3 separate regions of the Homo sapiens genome follow, and regions 2 and 3 are each linked to region 1. Evidence: promoter capture Hi-C in human tissues and cell types (Jung and others, 2019). All regions are on one chromosome and are shown on one strand. The core of a region is centred on a gene start or on the middle of the fragment in contact, and the rest is flanking DNA. Distances in the headings are between cores, read along the strand shown. Region 1 holds the start of TMPRSS12 (transmembrane serine protease 12). Region 2 overlaps BIN2 (bridging integrator 2). Region 3 holds the start of POU6F1 (POU class 6 homeobox 1).

Region 1 (4,976 bases), core at 623-3,122:
TTCAATTACTTATTTTCAGTGCTGGTTTTCATGCAATTGTGAGAGAGACCATATGACCTTCAAAGTGTAAAATATTTACTACCTTTATAGGAAGTTTACCAGCCTCTAATTTAAAAGATCCATGATCGAGCATGGTGGCTTACACCTGTAATCCCAGAACTTTGGGAGGCTGAGGCGGGCAGATCACGTGAGGTTAAGAGTTCAAGACCAGCCTGGCCAACATGGTGAAACCCCCTTTTCTACTAAAAATACAAAAATTAGCTGGACATGATGGCAGGCATCTGTAATTCCAGCTACTCCGGGGGCTGAGGCAGAAGAATCGCATGAACCCAGGAGGCGGAGGTTGCAGTGAGCCAAGATTGCACCACTGCACTCCAGCCTGGGTAACAGAGTGACACTCCATTTCAAAAAAAAAAAAGTAAAAAATAAAGGATTCCTGGGTAGGGGGCTAGGGGAGGGATAGCATTAAGAGAAATACCTAATGTAGTTAGATGATGGGTTGATGGGTGCAGCAAACCACCATGGACATGTATACCTATGTAACAAACCTGCACGTTCTGCACATGTACCCCAGAACTTAAAGTATAATAATAATAATAATAAATAAAGGATTCCTTTCAACAAATACACTGTACTATATATAAGGCATTATGGCTATTTGCAAACATAGCTTAGCTGAAAATGGCTGAAGTTAAATGGTCCTCTATCACTTCAAAATATCCCCTAAGAGCATAAAAATAGTTGTGTTCTGAATACGTACCTAGCGTCTTTAGTGCAGTGGGCAGCTGTGAGGACCCACCTCTCTCTCACTAGGGTTCCCCCACATACATGAACAAGAACACGGCCATATTTAATCTGCAGGCTCACCACCCACGGCCATGCGCCAGCTTGTGCTTCGGTGCCCCCTATAATCCGAGACCCTTGCAACACATCCTTAAGCGGTGCTGTTCCACAATCTAAAAATAAAAATGATATATTATTTGGACTGAGCATCTATAGTATGTGTTACTTCCTAAGCTGAACATATTAATGCAATCCTTTAAATTCCTATGTTAAAAACACAAAGCAAGCTAACATACCGGAGACACGCCCATATTTTGAAAGAAACTTGGAGAGTTAAGACAAATATGCCATAATCGATTACTTACAAATAGACATGAAGTCAACACAATTCATTAATTTTAAAACTCTATTCCCCAAAAATATAAAAATAAAAATTTTTGGCCACGTATCACATTCTTCCCTGTGTGAAATAGCAGTTAAAGAGCCTGGGAACGGTGAGTCGAGAGCCGCAAATTCTAATGCTCACCATTTCACTTGTTGGGCTAATTTTTCTCAACTATAGTATGAAATGGTCACCTAATAGCCCTCCCTTTCAACTCTTTATCCCCTGACTTATTAATCTATAAAATGGGGATGATAAAACCCAGAATGTTTTGAGGAGAAAATACAGATTCACAATACAAATGTGTCATTTCACTATTACAACTACTGTTATTACAGCCGGTCTAGAAACTGCTTAGGTATGTAAAATTTTGGTTAAAGGCCATTGGGACAACAGAAAAGGAGAAACCCGAATTCAAAGACTATAGCGGTGGGGAAAAGGTAAGAGAGGCTCCCCAGAGACAGGCACGAACAGGTACTGCCCTCTGCATGCGCCCCTCCCTCCCTCCGCCGCCGGAGCCTCTTGCGGACGGCCTCAGCCTGCTGGGAACTAGCCGCCGGTTCCGGCGAGGGGCCGAGCCTGTGCCTTCCAGAGGGCGAGTAGTGGTCTGAGTATAAGTGAGAGCTCCCCACAAACAACAGCGCCACGCTCAGGAGCCCCAGCCGCATTTTGGAGGCTGGTGAGCAAGATGGCGGCAGGTACTTCCCACCCGCCCTGGGCACGCGGGGCGCACGGCCTGGCGGGGAGGCGCGAGTGAGGCCCGGAGGTGTGGGAGGCGGCCGAGGAATAGGTAGGTCAGTTTAGAAAGAACCCCTCACCCTCAAGGTCTGATCGGCTTCCTCATCCACCACTATCCCCCAGGTGATGTCTGATCACCCTGGCCTGTCCAGCAAGAATCCTGTTAGGTCGGTTAGCCGGAATGCCATTACTCCTGATGCTACCTCTTAGTAATTTTCCATCCACTGACACGTCTCTCCTGCTCCGTGGCTGTAAATTCTCCCTTGGCTCTGCTCTGTTTGGATTTTAGCCCAGTCCCTCTACCCATTACAAAATCCCATTGCCATGGTCCCTATCCCTATCTGGATGGTCCTGAATAAAGTCTGCCTTGCTGTGCTTTAATGAGTATCACTGAATAATTTTTCTTTAACATAACCCAGAGTTTTTAAGAGTGATACCTAATGTTCAGTTTTAAATTGTTCTGTCATTCCTATCTTGACCTATACTGAACTTTGCCTTTGTTAACCCAACACCTTCAGTAATAAGAAGACCGTGTGGGCTGTGGGAAGTTGGTGAGGTGGTGGAGAGTTAACGTAGAGGTCAATAAAAGGACAGTTGCCTTGCTCATACCATCCTTCCGAGGCTGGTGCAGTTGGCAGCATTAGATAAAAGGAGTATATGAGTTTGGGGCTTACACATGGTAACATGTGGGGAAGGGAGCAGAGTCTCAGAGCTGTGCCGAAATTGGGGTGGAGGAGGTGATATTGGAGAAACAAATTGCAGCATGAGCTGATCTCTGAGGGCTGACAAGAAACAAAGTCCTTATTCCCCAGATATTTTAGTGGAAGGTGATATTAGGAGGAGAAAAACACAGTTGGGGTGTGTGTATTTCTGTGTGTGTGAGATGTGGTCAGATTGTGTATGCCTTTGTAAACAAGGCAAGATGACTTTTTTTTTCTTTTTTTAAACCCATAGCCAACGTGATAAGGATGACGGGTCTTGCTATGACAGATAGTAGAGGTTTAACATACTCATAAAGCAAGTATATGCAGCCAAGTCATCAAATAGCAGTGACACAGGCAGTGGGCTGGGCACGGTGGCACATGCCTGTAGTTCTATTATACAGCACTGCTTTAAACAATATATTTTTTAGTTTTACTACTCAGGAGGCTGAGGCAGGAGGATTGCTTGAGCCCAGGAGTTCTGGACTGTAGTATGCTATGTCAACTGGTCAACTAAGTTTGGCATCAATATGGTGACCTTCGGGTAGTGGGGAACCACCAGGTTGCCTAAGGAGGGGTAACTGGCCCAGACTGGAAATGGAGTTGATCAAAATTCCTGTGTTGATTGGTAGTGAGATCATGCCTGTGAATAGCCACAGTACTCCAGCCTGGGCAACAAAGCAAGACCCCATCTCTCCAAATAAAATGAAAAAGGCAGTGGATCAATAACTGCAGAGGTCTTCTTCCTGGATTTCCTCTGCCTTTTCTCCTCTCCTGCATTGTCATTTCCTGTCTTTGGTGGGATCACTCCTATCTGCAGACAAATATCCTCTGGTATGGTAGGTAGCCTACAAAATGCCCGCCAATGAACCCTGTCTCCTGGTATTCACAGCCTTAGTCAGTTCCCTCTCCTTTAGTGTTGGCTGGATTTCGTGACTCACTTCTAGTAAATAGAAAGTAGAGGTGATGGGCTACCACTTTCAAGATTAGGTTATAAAAAGATTGTGACTTCTGTCCTGAGCACTCTCTGCAGTCCTGTTGCTCTAAGGTAAAGCTGCTGCCATGTTGTAAGCTGCCCTGTGGCCCTGTAGAGAGGCTGCCAGCAAGAGCCATTGAGGAACTGAAGTCCTCAGTTGAACAGCCACGAAAAGCTGAATCATGCAACACCGCATGATCTGCTTAGAGGCAGATCTTCCCCGATCACACCTTCAGATGAGACCACAGTGCTGGCTGACACCCTAACTGCAACCTCATGAGAGACCTTAAGTCAGAGACACCCAGCCAAACTACACTTAAAAGTTCTGACCCACAGAAAATACGAGATAAATTTTTGTTGTTCTAAGCTACTGCATTTTGGGATAATTTGTTACGCAGCAACAGATAATACATCTGGTTTCTCCCACCTTAGAAAAATCTTCAATTGACTTTATATCCCCTACTTTCCTCTATAGCAAAATTTCACCCAAGAAGTTGTTTACAATTACAGTTTCTACTTTCCACTTCCTCAACTTTTTTTCTTTTAGTAGAGACAAGGTCTACATTGCCCAGGCTGGTTTCAAACTCCTGGCCTGAAGAAATCCATCCACCTCAGCCTCCCAAAGTGTTGGGATTACAGGTGTGAGCCACCGCACCCAGCCTACTTCTTCACCTTTTATTCCCATCTTTGTTTTTTAAAAATTTTGTTGGTTTTTGTTAATTTTTAAGAATAGAAGCAGGACTTTATTTCTCCTCTCAGAAAAAGAGACCTTGTCCACAGAAGCTCTCTTAGCTTAACCAACTTCATCCCATTACATTTTTTGTTTCTTTGTTTTGAGTCTCACTCTGTCACTGAGGCTGCAGTAGTGCAGTGGCATGATCTCAGCTCACTGTAATGTCTGCCTCCCAGGCTCAAGTGATTCTCCTGCCTCAGCCTCCCAAGTAGCTGGGACTACAGGCATGTGCCACCTTACCTGGCTAACTTTTTTTTTTTTTGTATTTTTTGGTAGAGACAGGGTTTCACTGTGTTTCCCAGGCTGGTCTCGAACTCCTGAGTCAAGCGATCAGCCCACCTCAGCCTCCCAAAATGCGGGGATTACAGGCATGAGTCACTGCGCCTTGACCCCATTAAAATTTTTTAGAGAAAATTAAGTGAGCCTCAAAACAAAACATCCTACCTCTCCTTTCCAAGTGAAAGCTTAAGATCCATGGTTATGGAGGACAAGAGCATTAGTACCAGGGCTTGGGGCCTGGGCTTTGGGGAGGCTTTATCCTCCCACCTGGGGCATGTCTCAGTGCTAGCAATTATGAAAATAAAACTATTTGATTACACAGAATTTAATAACAGTACAAACATCCATGTATACACCACCCCATTCACTACATTTGTTTTACTG
Region 2 (4,976 bases), core at 1,169-3,668, 440 kb before region 1:
GGTCAACATGGTGAAACCCCATTTCTACTAAAAATACAAAAATTAGCCGGGCATGGTGGCATGTGCCTGAAATCCCAGCTACTGAGGAGGCTGAGGCAGGAGAATTGCTTGAACCCAGAAGGCGGAGGTTGCAGTGAGCCGAGATCTCGCCATCGCATTCCAGCCTGGGCAACAAGAGTGAAACTCTGTCTCAAAAAAAAAAACAAAAAAAAACAACTTTTCCTTAAGTCAGGCTCACTGATGCAAGCCTGTAATCCCAGCTACTCAGGATGCTGAGGCGGGAGGATCACTTGAGCCCAGGTGTTCGACACTGTAGTATGCTACGATCACACCTGTGAATAGCCACTGCACTCCAGCTTGGGCAACATAGTGAGATCCCATCTCTTTAAAAAAAATTTAATAAAAAGATTTGGGTGCAGTGCCTCAACCTCCCAAGGTGGCTGTAATCCTAGCACTTTGTTGGGGGCTGAGGCAGGTGGATCACTTGACCCCAGGAGTCTAAGATCAGCCTGGGCAACATAGGAAAAACCCATCTCTACAAAAAATACAAAAATTAGCCAGGCGTAGTGTCACATGCCTGTGGCCCCAGCTACTTGGGAAGCTGAGGTGGGATCACCTGAGCCCAGGGAGGTCAAGGGTACAGTGAGCCATGATCACGCCACTGCACTCCAGCCTGGGCAACAGAGTGAGACCCCATCTCAAAAAAAGATTTTTTAAATAATAAAAATGACTTTTCCTTGGTCAGTTTCTAGTCTGAGGCAGCTGTGCTGATGGAGAGAGATAGGCAGGACATGTGGAGAGTGAATAAGTGCAGGATAGATGCGGGGTTTTGAGTAGGTAAGCATAGCCACTTCTCATTTTTCTGCACTGAAAAGAGCAACTCAATGGTTGAATTGATTTCAATTTGATTTTATAATGTATTATATGATTTTAGATGGAGACAGTAATAGAGTGACTTTTTGATTGCCTCTGGGGAATGATAAAACAAGCTTGCATTCTTGGAGTCATCTTTTTGAAGGGAGGAGTTTATAGGAGCCAAGACTCTTTCTGACCATTTTAAGAAACAGGCTAGTAACACTGTCCTCCCTGGAAAAGAGGTACAGGATACACTCTCCTTCCGCCTGAGTCTGTCTCCTTATATTTTAGATTTATAATATTTCCTTACTCTTAGCCTCTCTGGTGGGATTGCTTTGGTCATCAGCTAAGGAGAAATATTTTTCCTGTAGAATTAAGCAACTAGAGCATCTTAGATCCTAGCCTATTCGTGTCATCAATCCTCTGAAGCCTGTGTATGCTCACTTCCCTTGCAGATGCATTATAAATCATATTTTCTCTCAGGCAGAATTATGGACATGTCACATGTAAAAATGGGTAAATATAAATATAACTGGGAAAAAACATAGCCATTTTTGAAAAAAAATTACTGGGAAAAAATCTGTTCTTGCTTACCATTTGAATCATCTCAGAGAGATGGAAGGTTTTGATAACTTTCCGGGAGGTGATGTAACATCACCTCTGAGCTAATTCATGACCTGGAAAGGGAGGAGGGAGTAAAAAGAAAGAAAATGTCCTTGAAGGAGAAATCTTGGAATTTCAAGTGGCTATCACACTGTTAGAAATTGGTTCTGTTGGCCAGGTGCCATGGCTCACACCTGTAATCCCAACACTTTGGGAGGCTGAGGGGAGTGGATCACTTGAGGTTGGGAGGTTGAGACCAGCCTTGCTAACATAGTGAAGCCTCATCTCTACTAAAAGTCAGGCATGGTGGTGGGCGCCTGTAATCCCAGCTACTTGGGAGACTGAGGCAGGAGAATCGCTTGAACCTGGGAGGTGGAGGTTGCAGTGAACCAAGATCACGCCACTGCACTCCAGCCTGGGTGACAGAGCCAGATTCCTTCTCAAAAAAAAAAAAAAAGAAAGAAAGAAAAAATTAAAAAGAAATTGGTTCTGTTTTTAAAATATGAATTTATAGTTTGTAAATTAAATTTCATGTTTTAAAAACTTATTTTAAACCTCACAGGGTCTTCCCCTAGCATAGCAGTTTCTAGGCAGGGCTTTCTTTCTTTTTTTTAAAATTTATATTTTTAGAGATGATCTCACTATGTTGCCCAGGCTGGAGTGCAGTGGGTATTCACAGGTGCAATCATAGTGCACTGCAACCTTGATACTCCTGGCCTCAAGTGATCCTCCTGCCTCAGCCTCTCAAGGAGCTGGGACTACAGGTGTGCACCCCTGCACGTGGTCTAGACTGGGCTTCCTACACCTTGGGTTCCCATCTCAGAACCTAAAATTTTTCCCAAAGAAATTATTTTACCACTTGCTTCTCCTAACTGCGTGTCATGAATTAGGATCACTTAAGTGTGAGAGTTGCAGTACATTCTTGAGGACGGTTCATCTAAAAGTGGCAGGTAGTAATTTTAAGACCTCGCACTCCCTTATAGATACACATCCACACCATGTCACACAGATTACATGGTGTTTGATCATGGAAACAACTCAGGAATTCAAAGACCTGGTTTCCTGTCCCAGCAAGTCTTTTTACCCTTTGAATCTTAGTTTATTCATCTGTAAAAGAGGATGGATGAAAGCCTTTCCCGATGCCTTCAGGCTCTGGTGAAACAACACTGTATTTTGCCCTTTGTAATAGTACAAATACTGAGACCCTTGTAAAGTATAAGGCACAGAAGACACTTCTATGCTGAGAGGCTGGAAAGGTTGAGCCACCTCTTACTGGCAGAACTCTTCTCTTTGTAGGGCCAAGACCAGCTTCAAGTCTCCATGGTACCAGAAAACAACAACCTCACAGCACCTGAACCTCAAGAAGAGGTAAGACCAGATATACAGAGAATAGATTGGGCATTAGATTGACAGGGGTTTGGGAAAAGGCTGGAATCTTCACCACAGGCTACAAGGGGAATCCGGCAGTGAACCATACCCTTAGGGCAGTCAAGCAGGTGGGAATCAGAGGAAACAAGAATGAACTGGGACTTCGTGGTATCTCCGTGCCCATTTTCCTATACTTGACCTTAAACTGGCCCTATCTTCTAGGTATTTATTTAATTAAATCTCAAATTATTTCAAAAAGGAGTTAAAGAGGTTAAGATATTTTTTTTAAATGCAAAAAGGTCATATTATACAGTAATGTGTTGCTCAACAACAAGGATATGCTCTGAGAAATGCATTATTAGACGATTTTGTCATTATGTGTGGCTGTATGGTATAGCCTATTGCTTCTAGGCTGCAAACCTATACAGCATGTTACTTTACTGAATTCTGTAGGCAGCTGTGACACAGTGGTTAATATTTGTGTATCTAAACATAGAAAAGTACAGTAAAAATAGCATATAGAAAATAAAAAGTGATACACTTGTATAGGGCACTATCATGAGTGGAGCTTGCAGGAGTGGAAGCTTCTCTGGGTGAGTCAGTGAGTGAGTGGTGAGTGAATGTGAAGGCCTAGGACATTACTTACACTCCTATAGACTATAAACACTGTACACTTAGGCTACACCATTAAAAAATATTTTTCTTTTCTTTTTTTTTTTTTTGAGACGGAGTTTCACTCTTGTTGCCCAGGTTGGAGTGCAATGGCATGATCTCGGCTCACCGCAGCCTTGGCCTCTGGGTTCAAGCAATTCTCCTGCCTCAGCCTCCTGAGTAGCTGGGATTACAGGCATGCGCCACCACGCCCAGCTAATTTTGTACTTTTAGTAGAGACGGGGTTTCTCCATGTTGGTCAGGCTGGTCTCAAACTCCCGACCTCAGATGATGCACCTGCCTTGGCCTCCCAAAGTGCTGGGGTTACAGGCGGGAGCCACCACACCCGGCCAAAAAATATTTTCTTTATATCCTTATTCTGTAAGCTTTATTCTGTATTTTTTCTGTTTCTTTTTAAAACTTTTTTTGTTAAAAACTAAGACACAGAGCTGGGTGTGTTGTGGCATGTGCCTGTAGTAGTTCCAGCGATGCAGGAGGCTGAGGCAGGAGGATCACTTGAGCCCACGAGTTCAAATACAACCTGGGCAACATAGCTAGACACCGTCTATAAACAAGTAAATAAAAACACGCAAACATACACATTGGCCTACGGTCAGGATCACCCATATCACTGTCTTCTACCTTTACATTTTGTCCCACTAGAAGGTCTTCAGGGCACTACCACAAATGGACCTGTCATCTCTGGTAATAACAACGCCTCTTCCTGAAGGATCTACTTGAGGCTGTTTTACAGTTAATGTTTTTTTTAAATAAGCAGAACTTTTTTTTTTTTTTTTTTTTGAGATGGAGTCTCTCTCGGTCGCCCAGGCTGGAGTACAGTGTACAGTGGTGCAATCTCGGCTCACTGCAACCTCCGCCTCCTGGGTTCAAGCGATTCTCCTGCCTCAGCCTCCTGAGTAGCTGGGATTACAGGCGGTGGCGCCACCATGCCTGGCTAATTTTTGTATTTTTGGTAGAGACAGGGTTTCACCATGTTGGTCAGGCTGATCTGGAACTCCTGACCTCATGATCCTCCCGCCTCAGCCTCCCAAAGTGCTGGGATGCTGGGATTACAGGTGTGAGCCAACGCACCTGGCCAATTAGCAGAACTTTTTTTTTAATAAGTAGGAAACACACTAAAATAATAATAAAAAGTATTGTAGGCTGATGTGGTGGTTCATGCCAGTAATCCCAGCACTTTGGGAGGCTGAGGCAGGCAGATCACTTGAGACCAGGAGTTCAAGACCAGCCTGACCAACATGGTGAAACTCCATCTCTACTAAAAATACAAAAATTAGCCGGGCATGGTGGCACGCACCCGTAATCCCAGCTACTTGGAAGGCTGTGGCATGAGAACATGAGAATCACTTGAACCCGGGACAAAGAAGCTGCAGTGAGCCAGGATTGTGCCACTGCACTCCAACCTGGGCAATGGAGTGAGACTGTGTCTCAAAAATAATATATATAGAAAAATATTTTTAAAAGCATAGTATATTAAA
Region 3 (4,976 bases), core at 725-3,224, 380 kb before region 1:
CACACATATACACGTACATATGTATACACACATATACACGTACATATGTATACACACATACACGTACATATGTATACACACACATACACGTACATATGTATACACACACATACATACACGTACATATGTATACACACATACATACACGTACATATGTATACACACATACATACACGTACATATGTATATACATGTAAAAATTTATCAAGGTATACACATACTGTGTACATGTTATGCCCCAATAAACACAGAAACAAAAAGTAATATATGCTCATCAAATATTTAAGCAATGCAGAAGTGTATACAACATAAAGAAAACCGTGATTAACATTTTTATGTATGTCTCCCTGAACTCCTCTGATCACATCCATATTTCTTTCTTCAAACTGTCGCTGATATCCATGCTATCCAAAGCCTTTGATCTATGTGTAGCACCAAACCAAGTGACATAAATGAAAAGTTTCAACCTTCATGTGACAAAGTTCAGCAGCAATACTGAGCCCCTCCTTCACATAAAGAGTAGTGGGAAATACAAACATGAGTAAGTCACAACCAGTGCTCTCAAAGAATTCACAGTCCAGGGAGAGAAACTACAGGGACTACCGGCCAAACAAAAACCCCAAGAACTGTAATATCAAGCCACGCAGTAGAGTTTCACAGGGCCATTAAAACGAGTTCAAACTATTGTACAAGGAATGACACCTTACAGTTGTATAGAGCTTGCAGCTTTCAGTTTTTTCACATACAGGCTCACAAACTTAACCCTATGAAGTAGTCATTATAAATGTCATTATAAATATTATCCTTGTTTTATAAGTAATGAAGAAGTTAAATTACTTGCCTGGACGGCTAGTGGAAGAGTTGGGACTAAAACCTAAGTATTCTGACTCCTAATACATTGGTTACTCATAAATCCGCCGCCAGCAGTACCTGCTCACTTCCAGATGGAAACAGCAAGCTGATAACAGCCTAGTCCACTGGCCAGGTTAACGACGAGGCCGGGCCATTCAATGCCCTTCCACCACGAGGCCTTACGGAGCAGTCCCGGGGAGGACTGAGGCCTCCAACTGCATTCTCACACTGCCTCTAACCCATCTACCTCTAGCTATCCTCAGACCACCAAATATCGGGAGAGGGTGGGAGGGGGAACAGCCTAGGATGACAGCAGGTGGCCTCAGTATTGGGATCCACATTCACTGGATTTACAGAGCCTCCTTCCTTCCCAGTTCTTCTCTCCATTCCCACGCTTCCACTTTGGTCTTCCAACTTTTTCCTCTTTCAGTTGTCCACCACTTCTCCAATCTGCTTTCCCTCAGCCACCCACATCCACCCCTTTTCTGGTCCCCTCTCTACCTTAAGAAGCTGCTAGAGGTTTTTCACCATTCCACTGAACTTTGTCTTTCTGTTCACATTTCCTTGTCTACTTGGACAAGAAGGCCGGAAATCTGCTTTTAGACAACACAGCCCACGGCCGCCACCGGGTGAGAGACCTGGGACCCTTCGCTGCTTTGGCGCTGGGGCACAGCTGTTCAGAGGTTCTCCACGTTGGCTGAGCGATGTCTGAGTTCCCCCGCCTTTCTAGGGAGGGAGGGATAGACATAAACTTGACTTTCAACATTGAGGACAGTTGACTACCTAGAGGAAAGGCGGTGGCCGGGAGTCACCGCCCCAACCCTCAGCTGAAGGCCATGTGGCATGGAGGGTCCGGACTCCAGCTCCTACTCTGGCACCTTCCGAAATGAAACCACCTCCGCGGCACCTCGGAGGGGCTGAGTAACCAGACCCACTGACCGTCCATCCCTGTCCCGGGAGAGAGCCTCCGGGACCTCCCGCTCGGCCAGGGCCAGAGGGTCCCCTCCCCACCCCCACCCCTCGCTCCTGGCTCCCGTGCTCCCCTCCCTTCCCTGACCGCCCTCCCAGCCCGCCGCCCCCGGCGGCTGGCGCGGGCGGTGCAGCATGCGGCAAAGCTCTTTGCATAAATTATGCTCATGACGCAGCAGCTAAAAAAATCCAAGTAGCAGAAGGAGGGAAAAAAGGGGGGGAGGGAAAAGGGGGGGGTCGTGGAAGGGGGAACGAAGAAAAATATATACCTGACCGCCCCCCCACCCGGCTTCCCCTTCCCGCTTCCCGGCCGTCCCCTCTCCGCCCGGCTTAGCCTGCGGAGCCCCCTTCGGCTCTGCCCAGCCCAGGCTGGGGGCCTGGGGGCGGCGGCGGGTCCCGACCAGCTCCCGGGCCGAGCCGAGCCCAGCCAAGCCGCACTGGCTTCTTTGTCTGCGGGCGGCGGCCGCCGTGGCCCCGGCCCCGGCCCCGGCCCCCTGGCCCGGGCTGTGAGATGAATCTCTAATCGGTGGCCGCCAGACACCCGCGGCGAAGGCGGCTCGGGCTCGGGCTCCGGTAAGTAGCGGGGTCCGGGGCGGGGAGGGGTTTGCACGGAGGGGGAGGGGGCCGGGCAGGGGAGGTTTCGGGTTTGGTTAATATGCAATGCCCGTAATTAGCATAATTTATATATTTATGATAAAGAGAAAAAAAGCCGCGGGGCCGGGGCGGCGGGATGCTGGGCCGGGGCGGCGGGGAGCTGCGGGAGCGGGACAGCGCGCGGTTGCCCAGCTGGGGCTAGACACCCGGGGGCCGCGCCCTCGCCCGCCCGCGGGCCGCTCTGGACCTGGAGCGGAGGGGGCGGCCGCCAGGTGGACCCGGTGGGGAACCCCGACCTGGCCCCTCCCCGTTTCTGCCCCTGGAGCCCTTGTGGGGTGCGGACCACAGGGGACGCTCTGTACACAGAACCAGTGGCGACCAGAAGCGGATCCTTGCCTCTCTGGAGAACACGGACGCCTGGGTTCCCGGCGGTTAGGGCCAGCTGGGGCGGCCAGGGTGACCTGTCACGGTTCTCCCGAATGAACAAACTCCGGGACGACCGGTGGGACCCGGGGGTAGGGACCCAGGCGTTGCTGGAAGGGTGGGTCAGTGATGGGAGGGCCACCTTCTAGCAGAGCATGAGCACTTCATAAATATTTAATATCGATATTATTATTAATAAATAGTCATAATAATGGGCCCGATGCAGGCTCCCTGGGCAGGCTCACCTGGCAAGGCCAAGGGAGCTCCCAGCATACCCTCTAACCTCCACTTTCGCGGCAGAATACCCCACTCAGCCCGACTGGAAGCCTAAAACCTTCACAGAATAGCCTCTGCGGCTGGGCAGGGGGAAATCAGAAGAGTTCGGGAAGCATTCCTGGGCCAAAGAAAAGAGGCTCTTTGCAGAGATTTTTAACCTCATCTGCCCTTCCCAAATTCCTTGTTCCAAAAGTAGAGGGCTGGTCTTCAATTGTTCATATACATGTGTCCCATGCCCCTTATTTAGCAATCTAAGGCAGCCACCATTGACTGGCAGAGGCCTTCTGAGGAATAATTCCATATATTCCATTTTCATTCAAGTCCTGGTCCTCAAAGTGATACTTCTGTGACCTGGTACTCCGCTTATCTGCTGTAGAACTTCATTTCTTCATTAGTTCAACAAAAATACCCACTCAGTGCCATGCTCTGAACAATTCAGACAAAACTTCTATCATGGAGTTTTTATTCTGGGGGTGGACAAGTAGATGCTAAACATTAAAACTAACAAGGTAATACCATAGAGTGATTGTGTGTCAGTGTGTGTGTATGTAGCCATTTATTCTGTTTTGTTCCTGGAAGTACTAGCTGGCAGTTAAGAAAAGTGACTCAGAAAAAATTTGCTCCTGTAAGGTTTTTCTGCATTTTGAAGGAACTTGGGATAAGCTCATATTCTTGTCCCCAAGATTTACTCACCATAAAATTATCAGAGTAATCTTTTACATTTTCTTTTTTTTGAGACAGAGTCTAGCTGATTTTTTTGTATCTTAGTAGAGATGGGGTTTCACCGTGTTGCCCAGGCTGGTCTCGAACTCCTTAGCTCAGGCAATCCAACCGTCTTGGCCTCCCAAAGTGCTGGGATTACAGGCGTGAGCCACCGTGCCTGGCCATCTTTTACATTTTTAAAATGCTTTATAATTTAAAACATTTTTATATGCATGCTTTACTTCAGTTCAAAATAATAGCAATGATAATAACAAACATATATATAGTGTTTGCTTCATGCTAGGCCCTGTTTTAAGTGCCTTCCATAAATATTATCAATTTAATCCTCACAATAACCCATGAGGTGGTTACTATAATTTGGTTCCATTTTGGATAAGGAAACGGAGGCTTATAGGGATTACCTCTAGTAGAAGCAGTACTCAAGCTGGGTCTTCTGCCTTTAAACCTGCCTTTGACCCCTCATGTCAAAATGAGGGTTCATGAGGCAGAAGAGAGAGTGGGATGCAGGAGAAACTGGCCACAGGAGGAAGGCTTGGAATGAGAAATTAGACGGGCGCTTTAGGAAGGGGCCAGTGTGGTCTGGGTTCTCCAGAACCCAATACTACACCTTGGAAATCTCTCTTTTTTTTTTTTTTTTTTTTTTGAGACAGGGTTTCACTCTGTCGCTCAGTCTGGAGTGCAGTGGCGCGATCTTGGTCTCACTGCAACCTCCACCTCCCGGGTTCAAGCAATTCTCCCACCTCGGCCTCCCAACTAGCTGGAACTATAGGCGCACACCACCATGCCTGGCTAATTTTTGTATTTTCAGTAGAGACGGGGTTTCACCATGTTGGCCAAGCTGGTCTTGAACTTCTGACCTCAAGTAATCCGCCCGCCTCGGCCTCCCAAAGTGCTAGGATTACAGACGTGAACCACCACACCCGGCCTGTACCACGTCTTTGAAATCATTTTTAAGTAGCCCCAGTACTGGAAATGGAGGCAAAACATTTGAAGTAGGGTGTGTGTTTTGAGGGAAAAGGTAGGAAATAATAAGAGGCTAAGTGATGTGGCTATGACGTGACCTCGTATCTTCAATTGTTTTCAGCCCATATTCATGAACCTAGTTATATACCAGATATTATCTTAGGCACCAGGGATAT

The links. The method cuts DNA at HindIII sites, captures the fragments that hold promoters and counts their contacts. A contact is called where the count stands out against the background at its distance.
Region 2: a fragment that was not itself captured here is called in contact with the fragment with the promoter of TMPRSS12 in region 1 in 3 of the 25 tissues and cell types used here (IMR-90 fibroblasts, lymphoblastoid cells and mesenchymal stem cells).
Region 3: a contact is called between the fragment with the promoter of POU6F1 here and the fragment with the promoter of TMPRSS12 in region 1, in 3 of the 25 tissues and cell types used here (adrenal gland, aorta and small bowel).

Annotation. Positions count from the first base shown.
Region 1 is chr12:50,839,822-50,844,797 of GRCh38, reverse strand. It overlaps TMPRSS12 (transmembrane serine protease 12), which reads right to left and starts at 1,872. Exons shown (of 5, transcript NM_182559.3): 1 at 1,647-1,872; 2 at 761-956. The coding sequence starts at 1,833. It also overlaps the pseudogene RN7SL519P. The HindIII fragment of the contact is 10,446 bases long and covers 1-4,976 here.
Region 2 is chr12:51,282,566-51,287,541 of GRCh38, reverse strand. BIN2 (bridging integrator 2) reads left to right here. Exons shown (of 13, transcript NM_016293.4): 12 at 2,755-2,826. Among named protein-coding and RNA genes, the nearest start is that of SMAGP, 15 kb to the right of the region's middle. The HindIII fragment of the contact is 4,435 bases long and covers 201-4,635 here.
Region 3 is chr12:51,215,060-51,220,035 of GRCh38, reverse strand. It overlaps POU6F1 (POU class 6 homeobox 1), which reads left to right and starts at 1,974. Exons shown (of 11, transcript NM_001330422.2): 1 at 1,974-2,394. RefSeq lists an enhancer at 1,591-1,650 and silencers at 1,801-1,950, 2,151-2,310, 2,541-2,800. The HindIII fragment of the contact is 30,817 bases long and covers 1-4,976 here.